Regions from separate parts of the Homo sapiens genome. Here region 1 is linked to region 2. The links are contacts of gene promoters, found by promoter capture Hi-C in blood cells and fetal thymus (Javierre and others, 2016). All regions are on one chromosome and are shown on one strand. Each heading gives the region's core, a stretch centred on a gene start or on the middle of the fragment in contact. The rest is flanking DNA. Distances are from core to core; before and after follow the strand shown.

Region 1 (5,921 bases), core at 935-3,434, 670 kb after region 2:
GTTATTTCTTGGCCATTGATTGGTCTAGAGATGGCATGCTCTGGCAATGAAAGACAAGGAGAGGTCCTGAAGAGACTCTGGACAAGGTTTCCCTCTGTAATAAAATGGAAGAGGCATGTGAATGAGTCACATTTTCTGCCTGTCTCATGATTCTGGCTCGGGAGGGCCTGTTGATGCAATGTCCAGAACAGTGGCAGCCATTCTGTGGTCACTTTCAAGAAAGCCCTAGAAGAAAACCAATATGATGATGGAGTGGAAGGGTGACATTAAACTCAATTTTTGTTCAAACTCCAGATCTATCCCCTTCCAAAACTTTTTTTAATAATAAATTTCTCCATGGCTTATGTGCTTCATTGGTTTACTCTACCTTATCACTGAAAACATCCAGTGAATCAGAGAGAAAATAGAAAATAGTTGACTCTTGTTTTGTGGCTCTCCACTGTTTTTCATGGTTCTATTCCTTGGGCTTGAGAACAACATTCTGATGGTGTTTAAAAACTCAGAAAGAGCCCATCTCCTTAGATCAGTAGTCCATAGAGCATCTCCCTAGGGGCAGAAGGTTAGGGGGTTAATCTCGGCAATGGTGTGGAGTGTACAGTGTCTCTCATTTACCTTCCTTACCTCTCTACATGCTCCTAGTTACTGCTTCTCTTTGTAACTCTGAGGTATGAAATACCTCAAAGCATATTTGATTTTGTCACAGATTTCTGGCACAGGGCTCTTAAAACCCTTGGAATTCCCTGAGTGATAGGAGTATTATTTGTTATTCATAAACAGCCCCTTTTGATCATAGCTGAGTTTATGCTAAGGAGATCATGGCCTTAGGATGGGACTGGTCACCAGAAAGACCAAGGGATTAGAGGGTTGGAGCTGTCAGCCCCACCTACTGATCTCCAGGAAGGGGAGGCAGGGACTGGAGATTGAGTTCCATAAAAACTCTTGAACAATGAGATTTGATGAGCTTCCACATTGGTGAACACTCAGGAGTGCTGGGAGAGTGGCTGCCTGAAGAGAGCATGGAAGCTCCATGCACCACCCAACCCCTTCCCTGCCATATACCTGCCATATGCCTCTTTCCAATGGACTATTCCTGAGGTATATTCCTTATATAAAGCAACAGATGCAAACAAAGTGCTTTCCTGAGTTCTGTGTGCCATTCTAGCAATTTATTGGTGTCATTGGAACACCCAATTTATAGCCTGTCAGTCAGAAGTACAAGTAGCCACCTGGGACTTGCAACAGATGTCTGATCTGATCTGAGAACAGTTTGTGGGAGTGAGCCCTTTAGCTTTTCGGATCTGAGCTGAATCCAGGTAGACAGCATCATAACCGAATTTTTAATTGCAGGTGGCCCAGGTGGTGTCCCCAGAGAATTGGAGAATTTCTTGGTGTAGAGAAAAAGTATATTTGGTCAGAAGGATTGTGAAAGTAGAGAATCGAGTTTTTGTTTCACCGTGCATCTTTGTTTTTTTATTGTTTTTCCTCTCATTCTTCTCACCTTGGTAATTGTTTCTTTCATTTTCCTGAATCTCTGAAAAGAAAGGGCCTGGACTCTCAGATTTCTTGGCCTTTGATATTTGGAAGGATGAACTCCAGTCTCCCACAGAAGGCTAGAGGTGAAGGAACATTCAGACACATAAGTTTCCAAGATAAATCGTCTGAGAACATCTCCAAGGTGTCTTCTGGGAATGGTAAGAAACCCTGAGTTTGTGTCACTGGATTGATTCCAGCTCCATTGTCCCCGTGTCCTTCAACTAAGTCTCTGCTGAAGCCTGTTCTATAAAAACAGCAAGTAAGTGGTTTGGACTGACCTATTGTACTAGGTTCGACAAAGCAAACCAAATGGAGTCAGTCATACTAAAACTCCACATCACCAAACCAAAACTAATGTATCTGAACTTTTGAGAAATCAGGAGAGAGAGAAAATGGACAAATTCCTAAAACAGGCCAGTTTCAGTGGGCATGAACATGAAGTTCTGTCTGCTTTCATCTTTACAAAAAAAAAAAAAAAGCAATCTGTGGTAACTTGACTTCAATCAATCAGTTGTTCCTTATTGCTGTCTCTCTATTCCTGCTGCACAAAAAAAATGCAACATCCAGATGACCAATCAGGTTTTTGTTCTCTGTTTCTGCTTTCTTTAGCCCTCCTATCCCTGTAAAACCAACTTCCTTGGCTCTAACTATCAAAACACTCATTTTGTTTTATAGCATGACAGGCTGTCTGATTCCATCTTTATAACCAAAGCCAATTAAGATCTTAAAACCAAACATATAACTTCATCTTTTTACAAGTACTTAGAGCCTGAGTTGCTCCACAGGAATCCAGGAACTGGGCACAGGAAAAGGATCTAAGCTGGTGGTAAGTTGGGGTCTGAAAATTTTAAAGTTATTGTTGAAATGCCTGCTATATGACAGAGCCCTTCTAACTCTGGAGTAGCGTAGTCCAGTGAAGAATCCACTTCGTTAGTATGAAAACAATGTTAACTATTTCATTAACAGTGTTTAATTTGGTTACATGTTCCAGTAACATTCTTTTTTTTTTTTTTTTTTTTTTTTTTTTTGATGGAGTCTTGCGCTGTCACCCAGGCTGGAGTGCAGTGGCACAATCTCAGCCCACTGCAACCTCTGCCTCCCAGGTTCAAGCGATTCTCCTGCCTCAGCCTCCTGAGTAGCTGGGATTACAGGCACCTGCCACCACGCCTGGCTAATTTTTTGTATTTTTAGTAGAGACGGGGTTTCAATATGTTGGCCAGGCTGGTCTTCAACTCCTGACCTCGTGATCTGCCCACCTCGGCCTCCCAAAGTGCTGGGATTACAGGCGTGAGCCAATGTGACTGGCCAATTCTTTATCATATATGTAATTAAATAAAATTTATTACTAAAATAATTTCCCCAAAGGTGTTTTACTTTTTTAAAAACAGTGGCTACAAAAAAATTTTGAGTCCCATATGTAGCTAAAGTTAACACATTATATTTCTACTGGACATGTAGCATTGTAGAGATGTAGCATTGAAGGATCTTGATAGTCCTGTGGAGCTTACGTACTAGTGTGGAGGGTATTTAAGAGAGAAGATAAATGAACAAACAAATAAAGGAGAAAAGTATCTGGTGAGATAGGCTGTACCTGAGCATTCTGCTTTGCAGAGTGGGTGAGGTGGGATCTCTCTGAAATAATATTTGACCTGAAATATGAATATTCAGGATGAGCCAGGTGCAGGAAGCTCAAGACGAAGAGCACGGTAGGCAGAAGGAATAGAGAAAGCAGAAGCCCTGAGATGACAAAGAGCTGCAAGTTCAAGGAATTAGAGCCCAGTGGGTGGAGCCCAGTGTGTCTGATGAGAGTGCAGAGATGAGGTCTGAGGGATGCACAGGGCACATGTGGCAGTGGATAAGGGAACCTAGGATAAGGGAACCTAAGATAAGGGTAACTTAGAAGTCTGGAAGCCATCGGAAGGTATTGCGAATAACATCACCATCTTATTGGACCTTTTTAAAGCTCATTTGGTTTCTGTCTGGAGAATGGATCTTAGGGGAGGGGGCAGCAGGACCAGGAAAAAGCTATTTGCAAGGCTTGTGCAAATATCCAAGCCTGACAGGGCCATGGACACCGGTCGTGGAGATGGCAATGGCTCTGGCTGTGCATTCAGCATGTTCTGTAGATAGAATGAGTAAGACGTGGATGGCGTTGGGTGGTGAGGAAAAGAGAAATGAAAGGTGAGTTCTAGATCTGGAGCTTTAACAACTGAATATTTAATCTCCAAATAGATACAGAATATTGGAAGAGTGGCAGGTCTGGGAGGCAGAGAACATCAACAGTTTGGTAAAACCATGTGAGGTTTGGAGTCTATGGGACTCCCACGGGGAGAGGTTTTATCAGACTTGAGTGCCAGGGAGAGGCCACGGCTGATAATTTAGATGAAAAGACAGCATAATGGTTTAATCCCAGAGACTGGATGATATCATTTATAGAATGTGAGATACCCCAACATTTAGAGTCAAATTTAGAATAGAAAACACCGTAAATTGGACTAAAAAGAGGAAGAGAATCGAGCTGTAGAGACGACCAAGAGTGTATTGTGTGCACATATCTCTTGGATATATCTCATGGCATAGGAAAAATGTGTTTGAAAAGGGAGAAAGTGATCCAATGGGTCCTGTGTCATTGGGATATCAGGTCTTAAAAACTGAGAAGGACTCACTGGATTTGGCAGCCTGGGGGTCATAAGCATCCTTGGGAAAATGCATTAGGTGGAGTGCTAAGGACAGAAGTCAATGTGGAGTGGATTAAGGAGAACAGCTGAGGCGAAGAAGGAAAAGGAAGAATTAGAGACATTCTCTTTGGATGTTTGGCTGGAAATTCTGTCTTACAGACAGACCTTACAGAGAGGTCATTTGGCTAGATAGGGTTGAAGCTGGAAAGAAATATGCTTCAAAGGAGGTTTCTCTTGAAAGAGAGGGGGCGTGATTATGTGATAGAATGATCTAGTAGAAATACAATTTTCAATTTTTTTGGTATAAAAAATGATCTTTTATCCCTCACCACATCCCACCTCAATCTAAGTCTTAACTTTCTCGTCTGTACAATGGTTATACAAATTAAAACTAACATTAATCAATATTCACCGTGTCTCAGGGTGTGTTGAGTGCTTACACATATTAACACATCCCATCCACAGAGCCTATGAGAGGAGTTGTGAGGGTTAAGGGAGAAGCTCTTGGTGTGTGGATAATGTTCATAAGTAGAAGCTACTATTGCTATAAGCATCGTTCTTGTCCTGACCCTGAGCTTCATAGTGCAGGGTTCGGGATTGTACCCCACAACACAACACACAGCCTGGTGAGGGCTAAGAGTTCTAATTTGTTACAGATTTACCGACCTATCCTAGATGATTTCCATGTCTATTCTTTTTTTTTTTTTTTTTTTTTTTGAGACGGAGTCTCGCTCTGTTGCCAAGCTGGAGTGTAGTGGTGCAATCTCAGCTCACTGCAACCTCTGCCTCCTGGGTTCAAGCGATTCCCCCACCTCAGCCTCCAGTCCATGTCTATTCTATTTAATCCTCCCCTGAAAATCAGTCTTTATCAAAAAACCATTTCAGTTCTGCAGAGGGGAAAATGGGGGCTCAAAGAGATGTCACTGATCAAGAATTTACACCATCGAGGTGTCAGAGATAAGATCAGAGTAGAGATCTAACTGACTCCAAAGCCTGGTACTCTTTACACTGTTACAGTGACACCCAACTGGCAGGGGGAGGGGGTGGGAGGTATTTTGCCTCCCAGGGGATCTTTGACAATGTCTTTTGGTTGTCACTCCTGAATGGGGAGTTGCTACTGGCATCTCTGGATAGCGGCCAGGGGTGCCGCTAAACATCCTACTGTGTACAGAACAGTCCACCACAACAAAGAATTAACCAGCCCAAAATGCCATTGGTGTCAAAGCTGAGAAACCCTGAGCTACACTAAACAATGTCCCTGGGAAGACCTCAGTGAAAGTGACTGATAATGATAGGAAAAAAGAAGGAAATGAGTAAAAGAAATAGGAGAAAAAATTTATTATACGAGGGCAGGACCCTATCCTGGTAATTTTGGAAGAACGCCTTTCAATGGCAGCACTTGAGCGTGCAAAGGTAGTGGCTCTGTTCGGTCTGGTTTACAAATCTTCCTGTCTCCACTGACTGGCTAGGTATGATGCTGAAAAAACTACAGGAGTCCCTGGGCCATGGATTCTCCCTAGTAAAAAAGGGATGATGATGGCTGCCTCACAGTGTTATTATGAGTATTAGATGTAAACAAGTGCTACATAATTGCTATCATTCTTAAAGAGGCTAAATAGCCCAGGGTGGGAAGATTCTCAGATTTTCATGATCATAGAAAATTGCTGTAGCTTGGCTGGGCGTGGTGGCTCACACCTGTAATCCCAGCAC
Region 2 (5,474 bases), core at 2,305-4,804:
CTTGATGCCTCTCCTACTTTCTGCCCCTTGATCCTCCTCTTATGCATGGCGTCTCTCTTCCCCCATTTACCCCATTCAGGATGCAGCACTTCCTCCAAATGTCACCCTTTTCATCCACTGTACTCATGAGCCAGTGGGTGCTGTAACTTCCCTTCCTGAACAATGTCTCCCGTCATGCCCTCCTTGCTTAGTCCCCTGTCCTCCATCAGCATGACCAGGCCCTTTGCTGTCTTTTTTTTTTTTTTTTTTTTGAAGATGAAGTTTCGCTCTTGTCGTCCAGGCTGGAGTGCGGTGGCAGGATCTCGGCTCACTGCAACCTCCGCCTCCTTGGTTCAAGTGATTCTCCTGCCTCAGCCTTCTGAGTAGCTGGGATTACAGGAGCATGCCACCATGCCTGGCTAATTTTTGTACTTTTAGTAGAAACAACTTTTCACCATGTTGGTCAGGGTGGTCTCGAACTCCTTGACCTCAGGTGATCCAACCGCCTTGGCCTCCCAAAGTGCTGGGGTTACAGATCTGAGCCGCCGCACCCAGCCTCTTTGCTGTCTTGATCATTGTTCCATGCCCCTCCCCAGCCTCCCATCTTCCCTTCATGCTGTGCCCCTGATAGCACAAGCCCAGAAAGACCTTCCTGTACCCAGTACCAGCCCCACCCCTTCCTGGCCCAGAGTCCCCTGTGACTCCTCGGCACCCTCAGTCTAAGCTCCTCAGCTGGTCATGCCCCAACACCTCCATGTCCCCTTGGAAGACCCCAGATATATGTGCAGGTCTCTTCATCTGCCAGACTGTTTCAGAGCCTTTGCACATCCCTCGTCCTTCACTTGTGATGCCTGTCTGTCTTGCGTCAATATGACCCACTCCCCCTTCCAATCTCAGTTCAGCCTCCTTCCCTCCAGGGTCTGTCAGCTAGCGTGGACTCCGGGATTTGTGTACATAAGAGCATGAGCCGGGCCAGGCTTGGTGGCTCACGCTTGTAATGCCAGCACTTTGGGAGGCTGAGGTGGGCAGATCACGAGGTCAGGAGTTCAAGACCAGCCTGACCAACATGGTGAAATCCCGTCTCTACTAAAAATACAAAAATTAACCTGGCGTGGCGGCACATGCCTGTAATCCCAGCTACTCAGGAGGCTGAGGCAGGAGAATCGCTTGAACGTGGGAGGCGGAGCTTGCAGTGAGCTGAGATCACGGCACTGTACTCTAGCCTGGGTGACAGAGCAAGACTCCATCTCAAAAAAAAAAAAAAAAAGCATGAGTCAAACAGTCATGTGTCTTCTGTCTCATTCCGAATGGGAGGTAAGGGAGAAACCGACCTCTCAGCACCACTCTTCCTGCTTTCTCTGTTTTTTTCGTCCAGCCCCAAAGACCCTGAACAATGGTACACCACTGCCTGTCCTGGAGGGAGAGTCCCTGTGGTCTGTGTGGCTGACAGCACCCCACCTCCCAACCCCGCCCGGCTGAGCTGGTCCTGAGAGGGAAGAACACTGAATTCCTCCCAGCTCTCAGCACCCGGGGGCCTGGAGCTGCCTCAGATAGGGGCTGGGACGGAGGAGCATTGACCTGTTGGGCTCACCACCCACTGCGATTTCAGCACATTTCCCTGAGCCTCTGTGCAGAGTGAGTTGCAGGACAGCTGCTGAGGCAGGCAGCCTAGTCGGGTGTTTGGGCTGTCAGAGGGGTGGAGGCCTGGGAACAGAATCTCACACGCTTCTACCCTTTCCCAGGAAGCCCCTCTGGCTACAGATGTGTGAGTGAAAAGCAGGAGGGCTTCTGGCCCCTGGTTCTCACCTGATCAGGGGGCCATCCTGGGCACTGGCTTCCCCCCAACCCCCATGGCCTCACCTGGAGCTACTACTCCAGGTGAGCAGGCCTGCTCTTTTCTAGGGAAGCCGAAGGATTGTTCCCCGAGTTCCAGGTGGGGCTGAGCTGTCCTGTCCCGCCTGAGTTAGAATTGAAGTGGCCGATGCTAATCTGAGGCCCGTGTTGGCTCTGCAGGTGTGGAGGGCCCCAGGGGAGCAGTGCTGAGAGGCCTGACTGAGCCCCTCCTGCTCAAGACAGAACTCAGATGTGGACACCCAGCCCTGCAGAACAGATGCAGGACAACACTGTCAGCCATGGCTCAGCCCTTCTGACCATTGCAGTTGAGATGCTGCAACTTCCCAGGGAGCGACTGGGCAAACATGGGGGCCTGAGGTATTCACGGCAACGTGCACAGATGATAAAACTACCTAGAAAAGCATGGAGACCATTAGCGTTAAAGTGAGGCTGGGGCTGCTTCAGGAGGAAGTGGGGTGTGGCTGACAGGAAGTGGGGTAACAAAGAGGAGGTGTTGCGGCATCCCCAGTGTTCTGTTTCTCTAAGCATGTTCATATGTGTAAACCGCTGAGATTTTTTCTTGGGGGGAAGACATTTTTATCTATATGGCTTATATTTCTCCCAAAAATATTTCTAGAAAACTGACATCGGTCTAAGGAGGCTCCACCACACAGGATACTCCCAGTTCCTCCCAGCCCAGCCACACAGTTACAAAAAATCTTCTGCTGAATTCAGGTGCATGTTTCTTCTCCCATGAAATCCTGCCCATCGCGGAGGGTGCATGCCCCGGGGCTGGTGTCCTCACTCCACATCTCCTGTTCACCGGGACCCCTGGGAGCAGAGCTTGCAGAAGCAAAGCCCCAGGGCCAGCTGATCCCTCATGTTCTGGAGTAACCAGGGAAGTGTGGCTGAGCGAGACATCGGTGGTGAAGAAACCCTTCGTGGTGCAGTGAGGAAAGGAGAAATATCTTCCCTTTTGAAATCTGCCCCTTTTCTTCCGAATTTCCTCCCTTCCAAGCCCCACAGTACAACAGTCACAGCCTCAGTTTCCCAGACCTCCTGCGAGCCAGGCTCCCCTCTGTGTCCTTGGCGTGTATCAACACATAGAATCCTCACCTCCACAGCCCCATGTCCCTCTGCTCAGTCCTCCTGAGATTGAACCCCTGACCTACGGGAGAGTGACCCCATCCTGCCTGTGCCCCCCAACTGAAGCTCCTGCCGTGGACAGCTCAGACGTCAGGAGCCTCCATGTCTCCCCTCCGCACAGTGACCCCTTGGGGACAGTGTCCAGCTCTGCTGTGTTGACCTCGTTGTGCAGAAAGGGGGTGCCCACCTCGTGCTTGCTTGGGGGGGATGAGAGGCTGCCTGCTCACCCCACCTGCACCCCCATCTCTCATGGCCCCAAGTCCCACCTCTGAGCTACGCAGATATCCACAGCCTCTGACTCAGGGGTCTGGCCAGATGGGACTCATTTTCACCCTGCAGAAAATGTCACCTAAGGGGAAGGGCATTGAGAGGGAGGCAGGAGGTGGGGTGGGCCCTGCATGGGGTGGGAATCTGGGTGAGTCTGTCTCCCGCTCTGGCCTCAGGGACCCAGGAGTGAACATGGGGTGGTGGACGGTGGATCTCCCAGGGCTGACCCGGGCCTGACAGTGTCTGGGTGTAAAGTTCCTCCTCTGAGGAGGTCACTGTTCCGACCTCGCCCCTGTCTTCCTGTAGGGCCTCCTCTAAGTCTTGAGCCCGCAGTTCCTGAGAGAAGAACCCTGAGGAACAGACGTTCCCTCGCGGCCCTGGCACCTCTAACCCCAGACATGCTGCTGCTGCTGCTGCCCCTGCTCTGGGGGAGGGAGAGGGCGGAAGGACAGACAAGTAAACTGCTGACGATGCAGAGTTCCGTGACGGTGCAGGAAGGCCTGTGTGTCCATGTGCCCTGCTCCTTCTCCTACCCCTCGCATGGCTGGATTTACCCTGGCCCAGTAGTTCATGGCTACTGGTTCCGGGAAGGGGCCAATACAGACCAGGATGCTCCAGTGGCCACAAACAACCCAGCTCGGGCAGTGTGGGAGGAGACTCGGGACCGATTCCACCTCCTTGGGGACCCACATACCAAGAATTGCACCCTGAGCATCAGAGATGCCAGAAGAAGTGATGCGGGGAGATACTTCTTTCGTATGGAGAAAGGAAGTATAAAATGGAATTATAAACATCACCGGCTCTCTGTGAATGTGACAGGTAAGGCACAGGCTCCAGGAAAGGCCACAGGGAAAGGTCATGGGGGCGGCAGGGAAAGGCTGGGATGGAGCCCCTGCCCCAGGAGAGGGCTTAGGGTGAAGCGAGTTGGCTCAGGGCAGGAGCTGGACCAGAGCCTGAGCTCCCCCCAGGGCTGCACCATGGATCCTCTGACCTGATCCTGAGTCCCCCTCTCTTCACCAGCCTTGACCCACAGGCCCAACATCCTCATCCCAGGCACCCTGGAGTCCGGCTGCCCCCAGAATCTGACCTGCTCTGTGCCCTGGGCCTGTGAGCAGGGGACACCCCCTATGATCTCCTGGATAGGGACCTCCGTGTCCCCCCTGGACCCCTCCACCACCCGCTCCTCGGTGCTCACCCTCATCCCACAGCCCCAGGACCATGGCACCAGCCTCACCTGTCAGGTGACCTTCCCTGGGGCCAGCGTGACCACGAACAAGACCGTCCATCTCAACGTGTCCTGTGAGTGCTGGGCCGGGACGCCTGGGTCCCTGATGGGGTGAGCGTCAAGCCTGGACACTGGGTGCTGGGTCCCGGAATCTGGGCTGGTGGTGGGGTCAGGAGGACACTGGCTCTGCCTTCCCTGTTTATGCGGCTCCTGGGGACAGACAGGGCCAGTGTCCCCAGCCCTCACAGTGATGCGGGTCTCCATGTCTTTCTGTCCCAGACCCGCCTCAGAACTTGACCATGACTGTCTTCCAAGGAGACGGCACAGGTAGGATGGAGCTCCCTCCCTGGGGCTGGAGGAGCAGGGCCTTCAGGTCAGGATGGGGCTGGCTTATTCCTCAACCTGGACTCACTTTGGCAAACAGGGATGTCCTTGTGGGTGAACTCAGGGCCCCTCTGTATCCTTAGGCCCCAAGGCCACTTGTTCCCATCCTCCCATCACCTCCCTTGGACTCCCCCACACACCCCCCCCTCAGCCTCAAACAAGAAGAGGGTGGCATTCACACAGCAGGACCAGGCTTTGAGGCTCCTTCTCATGTATCTCCTGAATACATCTCCACCCTTATCTGTTTATTTCTGATAGTTCTGATCTAAGTACTTCTGGACAGGTGATAAATGTCCATGGGCAAAAATTCAAATTGCAGAGCAAAGGCTCTCCTCCGATGCCTGCCCCCCTCCCCAGAACCAACCACTGTCCATCCAGGCTGCCCTGAGTCTCGGTTTGTACACCTGGAGGATCTCAGAGGTGGTTTGACGTCCGTAGTGAGACTGTCCGCACCCTCCTCTAGGGCTGTGTGTGAGTCCACTGCATGGATGGACTCTGATTTTGTGGCATCTCCTAATGGAAGATCACGGCACTAATTTCATCCTACGGCAGGATAGAACAATCTTGTATCTACTTCCACAGGAATATCTAAGCCTGTGGGTTAAGTTCCTAAAAGCAAAATGTAGCTACATTATATGTT

What was found. Contacts are between HindIII fragments. The CHiCAGO score rates a contact against its expected background, and 5 or more counts as called.
Region 1: a contact is called between the fragment with the promoter of FPR3 here and the fragment with the promoter of SIGLEC9 in region 2, in 7 of 17 cell types (neutrophils, M2 macrophages, total B cells and 4 more). The highest score is 17.0, in neutrophils.

The regions. Positions count from the first base shown.
Region 1 is chr19:51,792,973-51,798,893 of GRCh38, forward strand. FPR3 (formyl peptide receptor 3) reads left to right here and starts at 2,185. Exons shown (of 2, transcript NM_002030.5): 1 at 2,185-2,359. The HindIII fragment of the contact is 12,110 bases long and covers 1-5,921 here.
Region 2 is chr19:51,121,352-51,126,825 of GRCh38, forward strand. SIGLEC9 (sialic acid binding Ig like lectin 9) reads left to right here and starts at 3,555. Exons shown (of 7, transcript NM_014441.3): 1 at 3,555-4,044; 2 at 4,246-4,524; 3 at 4,730-4,777. The coding sequence starts at 3,624. The HindIII fragment of the contact is 17,590 bases long and covers 1-5,474 here.